Linked DNA regions of Homo sapiens: all the other regions are linked to region 2. The links are contacts of gene promoters, found by promoter capture Hi-C in blood cells and fetal thymus (Javierre and others, 2016). All regions are on one chromosome and are shown on one strand. Each heading gives the region's core, a stretch centred on a gene start or on the middle of the fragment in contact. The rest is flanking DNA. Distances are from core to core; before and after follow the strand shown.

Region 1 (4,069 bases), core at 1,280-3,779, 470 kb before region 2:
AAAAAAAAAAAAAAGAGGCAGGAGAGAGCTGGGAAGTTTAATGCATTTTCTGGAAAATAGTGCTTGCCCATGCCTGTGAAGCAAAGGGACAAATATTTTCACACATTATCAGATAGCCGAGTAAAACAGCCTCCACCAGAATTTACAACTGAAGGCTACCAGAATTTACAACTTGTGAAATTGTGCCTGTCCATATTTTCTCATTACACTGGATGCACGCTGCAGATAGAGTGTGCACTTTTTTTTCCCTTTCTCCCCCTCTCTCCCCTCCTTCCACTGTCTCACTACTTCCTAGTTAAACCTTGTCTCAAGTTATCAACACTCTCTGGAGAGATAAGGCTCCTCTCACTTACAAGCTGTCACTAATAATCGAACTTTCAAGACTCCATCTCTAAGAGAGACTCCCCGAGCCACACAGGTCACGAGAATTAACTGCCACCAGTCCTTGCAGAAAACTCGGCTCATCAATCTATAGCTTTCTCGTCATAATTAGAATAACGGCTTTGAAAATTTGGGCTGATGTTGACTTGGTCTCAGGCCGCAAAGAGCGCTGATTAAAATCTTGGTGTGAAAGTTAATGATAAGTGCTGGTGGCGTTGCCGTGGAGACAGGGACAAACAATTCCCTCGCTGTGACATTTTCAATGTCCTGGAGAAGAAAAACTGTCCTCTTTAGTGTGGCAGCGAATGAAGCTTATTTATGGCTACAGGGCTCAGTGGATTGATGACTGTCGTAACATACTGTCAAATCCTTTACTGACACATTCATTTTTTTGGAGCCCCTGGTACAGCAGAAATAAAATAAAATAATAAAAACAAAACCAGGGGGAAAATTCTCCAGCAAACCATAGACGGCCACCAGTGGACCTTGCTTTCACTACAGGACCTCAGAATTAATAGACAAAAAGACTTTATACTTCTTGCCTCTATGACCAAGGAGAAAAGCAAGGCATAATTAGAAGTTGCTGAGTAAGAAAGAACACTATCAGGGCCACCAGCTCATCCCAGAAATGCTGGCTATCAAAGTAAGCTATTTGTAAATATCCAAGATTGGTAAATATACACAGGTATGCTCTCCCTACTTATCATAGAGGATGATGCCTTAGAAACCTATGGTAGTTTTTTAGAAAATTCTCCCAGCCAAAGAGACACAGTCTAGCCACTGCCTCCACTGTACAGCATCCCAGCCACAGCCGTCATTCCAAGGTTCAATACGGTAGTATTAGTCTCTTGAATCTATGGGTAGTTTTATGGTCTATAGAACATGTTCACATTCACCATTTCTTTTGCTTTTCATCACACAGCAGAGCAAGTGTCATAATCCCCATTTCATTTGCGAAGAAGCTGAAGTTTGGAGAATTTAAGCAACATCCCTGAAGAGACAGAACTAGTTAGGGGCTAAGCAGGGACTCCCAACCTAAATCTTTAGTAGGCACAAGTAACTAGTCACTATCTCAAACCAGGCACCCGGCCCCACATGTTCTGAACTGCTTTAACGGGAGCTCTGTTAAAAGCTTTTGGTTGGTGCAATGCAACGGAGTGGCTGCATTTCAGCAGCAGATAAAGGGACTCCTAGTGATCGCACTGAGTCCATAAAGACTTCTCGAGGCTCTGGCATTTTTCTAGTTCCTTTCATTCAAGGATCCTAGTCATCATCATTATTATTGTTGTTGTTATTAATAATGATAATGAAATAAACTATGCAAATGCGGGGAATGGCTTTAGCCCTAAAACGCAGGCAGTAATGTGGTAATTTATCCAATAATGGAATCGCGAAGTGATTTTATTTGCTTTTATGGCTCCTTTCTTTCAGAGGAGCTAGGCATCAATAATGGCAATAGTAATGAAATCAACTATGCAAATGTGGACATCGTTTTTGCCCTAATGTACCAATTTAGCCAGCGAAGGAAATTCAACACAGTCTGATGTGCTTCCCGACACCCAGGAGGGAGGGCTTCAGAGCTGACCTGTGCTCAGTTACCCAGATGTCATGATTAGTTTTCTAAGAGCAAGGCCCTGTCAATATCCATTTGGTATTATAACCAAAACCTTCCCTCCATGGTGGAAAATTTAGGAAATTCCCTCAATGACTTAAATAGAGAGAGGGATTTTAATATGAGAGCAAGATACGTTGATTTTAACACAATTCACTTTCTAGGCAGAAGCTCCACAAAAGGATCCTGGTTCAGGCTGCCTGGAGTCATCAGTCAGAACGGCCCCTCCTAGACTGGGCGTTTTCACTATAGCTGTAGAAGATTCTCTGTGGGACTGATGCCCCCTGCCAGACTCTCCATTTATCTGCTTCTGATCTGGATTCAGTGGGGACATTTCTCTGGCCAGAGGGTGGGAGCTCTGAAGGGCCCCTGGGGAGCCCTAAAGGAGCAGCACGGGGGGTTGTCGGGGGAACCAGAGTCAGTCCCCTCTTCTAAGCCCTGGGTTGGCCCTCCTCACTGCCACAGGATCTGTAACACCTGCTGCCATGATAAAGAAGAAAAGAACAGCACTCAGAGGACAGAATACAAGGCAGATCTGGAAGGCAAAGAACTTTGAACAGATCTCTATCTAGTATTTATTAATGCATTACAAATTTGAAAAGCCCGTGAGATCCCTGAAGGGAGAGACCTTATTTTCCTGTGTCCTAGAGCTTGGCACAGTCAGTGCCAAGTGAGTGTTGAATAAATGAAGGAATGAATAAACAAACAAAAACAGAAAGAATAAAATAGATTTTAGTGAGAGAGCTCTAGATACCCCAAAGCAAAGAATATGCATGTCCGGTACTGCTTTTAGATCCAAGTAACTAGAGCCCCCTGCCCAAGGCCAAGCACTTTAGAAGGCCCACTCTGGCCCTCCTCCATCCCCTCCCACCCCTATGGGATAAAGAGGTCCAGGGAACAAGGGCATTTCCAACCTGGAGCCTACTCCCCAGTTAGTAGACCATGTTATGATTACCCGGAACCCAAAATTCACTTCTCAAACAACCCTAAGCATTTCTAGCGCCTGCAATGACCTCTTCCCTGGGTCCTATCTCTCAATAGTGCATGGTGCCACGGGCATGCACCCCTAAGGCCAAGGGGTAGCCAAAGAGCAGCCATTGGTGGGTAGACCTTGGATGGGCAAGCTGGGTGCCCATGTGGATGTGTGCAAAGGCCTCTTGTGGGGGGAATGTGGGGCTGAAGGAAAAGAGAAGGGAGCATTGAGCAAGGGGCCTCATCTGGACTCTCATACTGAACCCCCCAAATGTTAGGGGTACTTCAGTTTAATTTGTCTGCTGTCAGTCTGGGTCAAAACCCTGAGGCTGGTGAGAGATATCCACAGTATGAGAAAACACAATTACATTCTCACTCCTTGGCAGGTTGATGACTTGGGGAGCGAAGAAAAAGACCACGTGAAAAACCTCGAGATCTAAAACAGGTTGTCAATATTTAAATAAATAAATAAAAAGGAAACTCCAGCAGTCAGTTCTAATTAATTCGCGGCAATCAGCTTCTCTTGTTCTATTAGTTACCATTACAGCAACACACTCTTGAACAAAATACCAGAAGCTTTCATTAGAATCATTAACATAATTTGATAACTGATGGTATTTGATTTCTGACTTTTGCACTTTGACTTGAAGCTTGGTGCAAGATGTAATCTCATTGATTGTCTCGGTTCTTTTTTCTCCCCCCATGAATACTTCACATGACATTTCTTTGTTAACTGTAATTAATGTTCGCATTTGTCACAAGTTGTATTATTTGGAAAAGCAGTCATGATGATAAAAGATGTGACAAAGACACACACATGTCTTCTTATCCAGAATGGCTTTATCCTCATTTAGGTTTTGGGAGAAAATAAATGAAATAAGTCAAGCATATATTTGTTTTCACAGTCAGGATGGATTGTTCAAAGTGATGCCTCTTGGAGAAACCAATGCAATTAGCTTTCTTAAAAAAAAAAAAAGGTGTCATTAAGGCATGAGTGAAATCTTAAAAAGACAAGGAGATTTGAATTCAGGTTGAACATGCCAGGCCATAAATCTGTCCCACTTCCATTGATGGTAAGTGCTAGAGCACAGAGGCTACTCCCAG
Region 2 (4,399 bases), core at 66-2,565:
TAAATGGGGGGTGCACAGAGACAAAGGAAAGGCTAATTTCCAACAACACCTGGCATGGTGCCTGGCATACAGTAGGCACTCAATAAACATGTGTACCTGATGAAACGACAGGACTCTGGAAAAAAAGAAAACAGGCAGCGGCTAGTTTAATGGGCTGCACAGTTGGCCCTCACTGCATCTGTAGGAGCTGTAAAAACCCCTAGAATCTCCTCTAAGGAGGAATCATTCCCTTCAGCCCAAAGTAATCTCAAAATCCAATTGTGCCTGACACTACCTGCCTTAGGCAATCCAAGAGGAGAGCTTCAAAAACTCAGAACTATTTCTCCAGGGTGTGCAGGGAAAGGTGGGAAGTAAGAGGGCTCTGGCTTCATCAGAGCAGAGAAGAGGTTAAAGACAGAGAACTGGCTTTTCCAGCAGGTAAGAAAGACACCTGGTCCCAGAGTGGCTGGGTTCATCCCTCCAACAATGAACACCTGAGGCTTCACTACAGAGCTCAAAGCATGTGAGACTGGGTGTCTGGCACCCAGGATTGAAACTGGCGTGTTGCCATTCATCACAGACTCCTGTTCAAGAAATCGAGTGTGGAAAGAGAACTGGAGGTCGGTGGCCTTCCATCAGCCTTTGGCTATGGCGTAGCCCATTCAGCGCAGGGCCCACCAGCACCCTCATCTCCAGGGATGTGCTGGGACTTTGGGTACCCTAGACACTTTTGCCTTCATAAACCCCTTCCTCCATTTACAAATAAGTAAATTTGTATATTACAACTGCATTGGTATAAAGATGACTATATCAATGTGATTTATCAAAATGGATTCTTTGACCAAAAGTTTTTAAAATTCAGATTATGAAATTGGAACATTTTCTGTGGGCCCCCAAAAGCAGCGGGGGCCGTCAGCACTGTGTCCGCTGGGCCTGCTCAGTGAGGCGCTAAGGGCAGAAGGAAGTGGGGAGAACGGGAGACCTTGCGGGTGTTCTTCCCGCACATCAAGGGGGTGTGCCAGGCCCGAAACGAGGTCTGTCCTAGCCCCACTAGGGCGAGCCTGAGCACCTGAAGCTCACCCCCTGCAGACGCAGCCCCCTGAGGCGGGGACAGGGGTGTCTAGGCCCTGGGGAGCCTCTGTGCCCCGCTGTCCCTCCCCACGCGGACTGCGCCCCGGGCGGAGGCGGGGCTGGCCGGGACTTACTTGAGTTCCACGCACCACGAGCCCGGCCATGGCGGCCAGGACGCTGCGGGCGCGCGGGACGGAGCGCGGGGGCGCGGCGGCAGCAGCGGGGAGCGCGGCAGGGGAGCGCGGCGGGCGCACAGTTCCGCACTGGGCAGTCAGCTGACCCGGCGGAAGCCGGAGGCGCGGGCTAGCCTCGGGGACCTCAGCTCCGCCGCTCGCCGCCGCCGCCCCTCGGCCCGGTCTCCGCGCAGGTGAGCCCTGGCCGCCCGCTGCAACAGGTGGCCCGCAGCGCCCCGCGCCCCGACGGCGGCCTGACCCCGACTGCCCGCGCCCCTCCCTCCCCCGGATGTCCCAATGCCCAAAACTCCATGCCCACAGCTTTATCGCGTTTGTCTGGGCCACGCCTGAGGTGGGGGTATTCCTATCAGGGGCGCCCTTTCTGAGCCGTTAGCCGGGCTGTAGCCAGCCGGGCCTTTCCTGCATTTCGCAAGCTGGGTTACATAATGGACCTCAACTGCAGCGAGGAGGGGCCTCTTGGCTGAACGCCCCTCCTCATCAAAGCTGGGGAGAGGGAAAGTTAGAAGGTTGAAGGACTCCTGGTGCGGCCCAGTTTCCATTTGTAGGAGGGGAGGGGGATTGGGGGGGTTGAATTTCCCTATAAATAAAACGCTGGCTTGGTGAAGACCACCCCACCCTTTCCCTGTGGCCTCTAAGAGTTGACAATAATAAACCCTGGGGAAGGATAATTGGCTGGTGACCCCAAATTTCAGGCTTCTCTTCTCCTGCTCCTCAGAGGGCAAGAGATTTGTGAGGCTTGAAGTTATCAGTGGGGTTATTCGCTGTTCCCCACCCACCCCATCCCCACCTGGAAGAGCTGGCCACGGGCCTCCTGTCTGGATGAAAGTAGGCCCAGTGGGCAGGTAACTCCCTAAACCCATGCCTGTTTTTCTCTGAAATTCTCTGGAAGGATCCAGATTTTCTCCTTGCCTATTCTTGCCTCCAAGTCCAGGATGCACAGAGCTACCAGATATCAACTGGTTGTCATCTTCCACTCTTGCTGCAGCTAAGAGCCAGCCCAGCCTTAACTGGCATCGTCTCTCAGACAGCCCCGGTCCTAACACATTGTTAGGTGGGCCCTTGTCAGCATTTTGATGAGCAGTGTTGATCTCGGAGGGTTGACCTTCCTGCCCCTCTCTCAGCTGGGAGGAGCAGGCTCAGAAGAGTAGAGCAGTAAGAATGCAGTCTTGACTGTGTTTACTTTGGGGGATTCCAGGAAATGCTGCAACAAAAGGTCCTGCAGGCCAAAAAAGAAAGCTTACCCTCCAGAGATAAGGGGATCAAAGGGAACCTTCCCAGGCCTGTTGCCCCAAGGACCAGCTCCCCCGCCTTCTCCCTCCTTCTCTGCTGGACGCGCCCTCTCTGGTCCATTGTGCACTTTTGTCTGCTTTTCCTGCCTGAAAAGGAGGAAGTGAGCCCGGACCCAGCCAGCACTCTGCCCTCCGCAGCTGCCTTTCAGCTCAGCTTTCCTAGAAGGGCTTTGACAGATGGAAGAGGACTTGTGGAAACAGGCCCAAGCTGACTCAAAGATGAGATTGGAGAACGGCTCTCCCTTCCCCCACCAGAAGGGGGTTACTGAAGGTCATCTCATCCATCCCCCTGCCTCCATACACAGCTGGGTCATCTGAGCATAGGCTGTTCTGCAGACACTACCAATGTCACCAAAGTGGGCTGGCATCTTTCCCCCTTTCCACACCCTCTCACTACTGTTGCCTCCTCCACATAGCCCCAGGGCAACCATTTTAAAAGCCCAATTAGATCCTACCTAAAATCTTTCAATGGCTCCTAATCAAGTAATAATTAATACAGTCCAGAATCTTTAGTATGTCCCTGAAGATCTCTTATAATCCCATCAATTCTTACCTCTTCAGCCACCTGTCCCAGCTCTCCCGTCCTCTGGCTTCACAGAAGCTGTTAGTTTCAGCTGGAAATGCTTCCCCACCTACTGCTGTCTCTGCTTGGTGAACACATCAAGAAGGCCAGTTGATGGTGTGGGGAAGGATCATGTGCAGAAATCACAAAAATTAAGATCAGGATAGCTCTGTTGGAGGGGGGCTTTAGTGTTGGAACTGTAAACTGATAACAATAGGGAGCTATTGAAAGTTCTTGAGCAAAGTAGTTGTCTTAGTCTACTAGGACTGCTGTAACAAAATGCCATAAACTGGGTGCTTATAAACAATAGAAATTTATTTTTCACAGTTCTGGAGGCTGGGAAGCTGAAGATCATGGCACCCACGATTTGGTGTGTGGTGAGGGCCCATTTTCTGGTTCCCAGACAACGGCCTTCTTCCTGTGTCCTCAAATGGTAGGAGGGACAAGCTAGCTCCTGTGGGCCTCATTTGTAACAGCACTAATCCCATTCCTGAGGGCTCCACGCCAATGATCTAATCACCCCCCACAAGGCTCCACCTAAGACCTTGGAGGTTATGATTTCAACATATGAATTTGGGAGGGACACAAATGTTCAGACCGTAGCAGAAGTAATTTCCTGAATGTTGTTGGGGGAGGACACCAGCAGAAACAAACTGGATTCACCTGTCCTTACTCCTCAGCTTTTGGAGTTAGTCTTCAGAATAGAAGAACAAGGAGAAGGAGGAGGGGAAAGGAGAATAGAAGGAACAGAAGGAGGAAGGGGGGAAGGGAGAAAGGTAAAAGGAAAAGAAAAAGAATCTGTGTCCCTGGACCAAGGAAGATTGGAAGCCGGGAGGGGGAACATCCTTCTACCTCCTTATCACTGTTGCCAACAAAAAGGAAGATTAAACAGAAATAGTAAAGTTCCTCCATAATGTAGCCCTCCCTCGGGGAGGGGAGAGAGCAAAAAACAAAACAAAACAAAAAAAACACTGAGATAAGACTGACCTAGGAGTTAGACAAATAATTCCTCCGGAATACAAAGACTTTACAAGGGTGAACATAGCAGACGAGTCCTGTAGGGGCTTCGTCCTGAACACAGCTCTTTCTGCCCCAGCCCCAGGAGCACTGAGGTAAAATATGGGCTCATGCAGTCACGGTCCTCTCACCCCACTCCATGACTCATTGAAAGTGAGCTGCTAGCTTCCTATCCTGCCCATCTTACTTCACAGCCGCTGTGCCCCAGCTTCTGGCCTTGTGCTAGGCACTAGGGACATCCCTGACTAATACTGTTCAGGAGAGACGCTCAGACTTGTGCACAGACA
Region 3 (4,481 bases), core at 999-3,498, 340 kb before region 2:
CTGCAGCTTTGAAAACCTCAAACGTCATATCGGATCTACAACAAAGAGCAGGGACTTCAGGGGTTGACAGCACGGCCATAATTAAAGACAACCATCAGTGAGCTGCCATGTTAAACAATGCCACGTTATAGCTGCTCCAAAACCAACTGTTTACCTTTCAGACATTTCTGTGGAAAGGTTTAAACAGGTGCGGTTTAAATTGTTTTCATAAAAGATATGCAAACAGGAGATAGGAACTTTTCTTCTCTCTAAGACAGGGTAAAATGTACAGCATGCAATTCCCTTGCTAATAGTGTCCAATTGATTTACTTAGGGGAACCAATCTCTGGTAACTGATACAAATATGAATCCCAAAATAGCACTGAAAATATTACAGGGATACAGCCAAACATGGAATGGGAAATAATCCCCAAATTTCCATCTTAAGTTCCTTCTGGCCCATGAACCTCAGTTTCCCCCTTTGTAAAATAAGAAGGCTGCATTTCAAGCTTATGTTGGCATGCAGAACTCTTTTTCCAAATCAAGTCCAACAAATAGTACAGGAAAACCTAGTGGTTTCTGAGAGTGGATCAGGGTCCCTTCTTCCTCCAATATGCCCCCAGATGATTTCTAGAACCTTGCGAACTACTGGACTGAATCATCTCTGTGAGTTCTTCCAGGACCCAAATTCTCAAGTTCTCGAGAGAAAAAGCAGCAATAGCAGCAGTTGTAAAAGGCTTTCTCCATCATTGGTCCACAATGCTTTCCTCAGTGTTCAGCATCTAAGTGGCACTGAATGAATGTGGTTCTGAGTTGATCAATAATAAAGGAAGTTGTAAATAGCTTCTTCTCTGCTTCTCCTTGAGTTTGGGGTAAGGTTAATTAATATCAACAGCAAAGGGAAAGAGGCAGATATTAAAGCAAATTATAGTAGCCTCATGGTTTGCTAACTAAACTCCTCAAGCTGGGTATTCATAGCAGGCTCAGTGTCCTGGCCCCCAGGTCTGAGGCAAACAGAGGAGTGTGCTCTCTACACTTTTCTTCTGCCTCAGAATCTTAAGTCAGCATCCCCAAGGCCTGCACTTGTCATGTTTCCAGGTCTACCTCTACGCTGGAGATCTCTAGAGGTTTTGGAGCTCCTTGAAAGTAAGACTGTGAAAAGACAGCCAGGAACATTGCTACCTTGGACAATGCCATAAGAATTGAGGTGGGAACAAGAAGACTGCTCTGTGGAGCCACCAAGAGATTCCTTTGGAGTAGCTCAAACAGAGACTCCTCAGTGGGATGTGGGAGGTTTCCCCACGCACAAGAGCTGCTTACATCCTCATTACATATGACTCACACATGTTCGGGGGACCACTGGACCAGGATCATACTGACTGTGGTTAAGTCCCCACATGGGACATCATGACCCATTATGTTGACCACTAGTGGAATTTTCCAATACCTGAGGATACAACACTGTTAGAATCAATGCAATAAGCTGTCGCTCATTTCTTTGCAAGCTGAAAACCTATTTATAAAAGGAAGCCGGGCACAGTTGTGCATGCCTGTAGTCCCAGCTACTGGAGAGGTTGATGCAAGAGGATTGCTTGAGCTCAGGAGTTTGAGGCTGTAGTGTGCTGTGGTTGCACCTATGAATAGCTGTTACACTCCAGCCTGGGCAACATAGCAAGACCCCATCTCAAAAAAACAGATTTATAAGAGGAAAATCTCCAATGCTTGTTTGAGTCAGACCAAAAGAATTGCAAAGGCTAAATCTGACCTCTTCCTATAAAAATAACATGGAGAATCCTTGTGTGGACAGGCCTAACCTTCTTGATAGGCCCCTCTCAGGAAGGCCCCACAAAATCTACAGTGGAAGAACAATCCACTTCTGTGAAGGAAAAGTTAATGGCCAGTTGGTTTCAATTGACTAGGACAGAGCTAAGTGAATGTAGATAAACCACTTCCCGACTGAGGCTAGGCCAGGGGATCCTCCCCCACACCTCCCACCGCTGATATCATTCTTGAAAGCCTTGTTTCCTTCCAGCCTGGAAAGCTCCATTTTGGAAACAATGACCCTTTATGGAGAGCTTTCATCCCTGCTTAAGTTCTAAAAATCAAAGAGCCAATATGTCTAAGCTGCCCTCAAGGATCTGGGAAAACTGCCGTGGGTACGTTGTTATTTAGTGGTAATATCTTATTTAACTTGTCAGTTGTCTTGCTGTTTTCAGAATGAAACCAGATATAAATAAAGCAAAAAAAAAAGTGTTTGAGATAGGCTACTGATCACTAGTTTATTTTTTGAGTTGAGAAGCCACACAGTTTTCCAAGCATGGTTACATTATGGTAATATGCTTTGTCATAAATCTACTATATCCTTCTGCTTGTCTATAAAACAGTCTGCTCCTCATCGTTCTCAACTTGGCCTGCATACAGAACTTTTAACTTAAAATATCTAACAATATGTCATATCCACCAGATACATGACAGCTATTTCTAAGATACATAATATTATTAATTATTTTTGAATTTAACTGAACTGTTATGAATCCAAAAAGTATAAAAATGACATTTAGCCATCAACAGTTCTTGAAACATTATACACACAAAGAAGAAATACTAACAAGTCCTACAGTACTCATAATTTCAAAATTATACCCTTTGAAGCCAAAATGACATTAAGAGAAACAAAAAGGATGTAAGAACTTAAAAATAAAAATGTAATGCTTGAAAATATTAAACTTGTCTTCAGATAAAAATTAAGTGTGAGATAAATTATTTTTTATGTTTGCAGAACTGTCAAACAATGTGCTGTCTCCTTAAACTATTTAAAGAAATAGGGCTGGAGTGTGTGGAGAGGATCTGGAAGACATAAATGACACTGAGAGGATGAGCAAGAAGACTGACTTCCATTTACTCTGATTCACTTAGCATGTACTGAACACCTACCATGTACTCATACTATGCTGTGTATCATGGCGGATTAAAAGAATGATACAGACTAAGCCTTAAAGGAACTTACAGACTCAGTGAGGACATGAGAAACACACAAGATGTGAATATAATGAAACACAACTACCTTTGATTAAATGCCCAAATAAAAGCTCTGGTAAGTAATGTGAGCATTAGAGCAGGAAGAACTCAACGTGGGCCAGGATAGTTGAGGAAGCTCCATTAGGAGCTAGAATTTCAGCTGGATCTTGAAGACTGACTCATATTCAGAAAGATATAAAGAAGGCCAGAGGGAACTGACAAGAGGGGAGGCAGAGTAAACAGTGACCCAAAGGCTGGAACAAATATTACTCACTGGGCGAAGTGTGAGCTGAAATGAGTGAGTGGCCTCACCGCAGGCCTAGACCTCAGGTGACCCACAACTCAAGGACGTGGAAAACATTCATCATTCATCTGTCTCCCTCTTCCCACATGTTTCTCATAGACAGCTTCATTGGCGTCCCCCAGGGGCTCGGAGTTCTGGGGCTCCCAGTGTCCCCTCTCACCAGACCTGCTCCACTGGACCCACACAGGAACCCCCTAGATTCACCACCATGAGTCACAAACTTCCTTCCCCAGCTCCAAGGGCTGTGCTTTCTTTAAGAACCCATCAAATTGCTCAGAACTGGGAGTGGTCAATCCCTTCACCTAGTTAACATACTACAATCTTTCCATTGCAGCCTCTCTGTGCTAACCTGAGATCAGTGGTTCTCAACCAGGGGTGACTTTGACCCAGAGGGACATTTGGCAATGTCTGGAGACATTTTTAATTGTCACAAAGGATGTGTTACTGGTACCTAGTGAGTAGAAGCTAGGGATGCTGTGATACATCCTTCAACATATGAGACAGTCCCCCATAACAAACAATTTTCTACCTAAAATGTCAACAGTGGCAAGGTCGCAGTGGAATGAATATAGACATTCACGATACTTTTCTGAACAAATTTATTTTAACAAGATGGAGAGCTTTCCTTTTTCTTTTGTATTTTTCTTAAATTTTACTCAAATCCATTCACTTTCAGAAGGTGTACACCCAAATTCCAAGAAGCTTCCCAGGGCAAGCTGGGATGATCCATACATCCCTGATTAATCTGCCCCCCCCCATCCCACCCCCCCCAAAAAATAAGAATAGTGCCCTGAGGGGCAGGGCACTCTGGCTATGAAATGTGCTCTAGTCCTGCAAATGACCAATATATACCTAAACCTAACTAGAAATGACAGGATATTGAAAGCCAGTACATTTTGTACCTTTTGGGCCCTTCCACAGCAAGACGCACTTTAGGTACTTACATTTTAATAGGGAAGAACCTCATTACCCAAATATTTGCTATTCGAGCACTTTCAGTTTTGAATTTGCATAAGGAAACAAAGTCATCATAACTATTCATTAGCGAATTGACCGGTTCCCACTCAAACTTCTCTTCCAAGTAGCATTCATCCCTGATCCTTGTATCAACAATTTAGGCCCATCTGATGGTCAAATGTTACATAAGCCTCTGGTGCAAAGCAACTGCAAAATGAAACCG

The links. Contacts are between HindIII fragments. The CHiCAGO score rates a contact against its expected background, and 5 or more counts as called.
Region 1: a fragment that was not itself captured here is called in contact with the fragment with the promoter of LRMDA in region 2 in 2 of 17 cell types (endothelial precursors and megakaryocytes); the score reaches 5.3 in endothelial precursors.
Region 3: a fragment that was not itself captured here is called in contact with the fragment with the promoter of LRMDA in region 2 in 1 of 17 cell types (monocytes); the score reaches 5.8 in monocytes.

The regions. Positions count from the first base shown.
Region 1 is chr10:75,901,182-75,905,250 of GRCh38, reverse strand. All of the region lies in intron 2 of LRMDA (leucine rich melanocyte differentiation associated), which reads right to left. Among named protein-coding and RNA genes, the nearest start is that of MIR606, 350 kb to the right of the region's middle. The HindIII fragment of the contact is 2,028 bases long and covers 1,516-3,543 here.
Region 2 is chr10:75,428,540-75,432,938 of GRCh38, reverse strand. LRMDA (leucine rich melanocyte differentiation associated) reads right to left here and starts at 1,315. Exons shown (of 7, transcript NM_001305581.2): 1 at 1,185-1,315. The coding sequence starts at 1,214. LOC107984293 (a long non-coding RNA gene) reads left to right here and starts at 1,329. Exons shown (of 2, transcript XR_001747703.2): 1 at 1,329-1,417; 2 at 2,629-4,399. RefSeq lists enhancers at 506-1,006, 1,007-1,507 and a silencer at 1,266-1,365. The HindIII fragment of the contact is 4,872 bases long and covers 1-2,482 here.
Region 3 is chr10:75,772,447-75,776,927 of GRCh38, reverse strand. The region is part of intron 2 of LRMDA (leucine rich melanocyte differentiation associated); the gene reads right to left. Among named protein-coding and RNA genes, the nearest start is that of MIR606, 220 kb to the right of the region's middle. RefSeq lists an enhancer at 1,863-2,157. The HindIII fragment of the contact is 3,515 bases long and covers 491-4,005 here.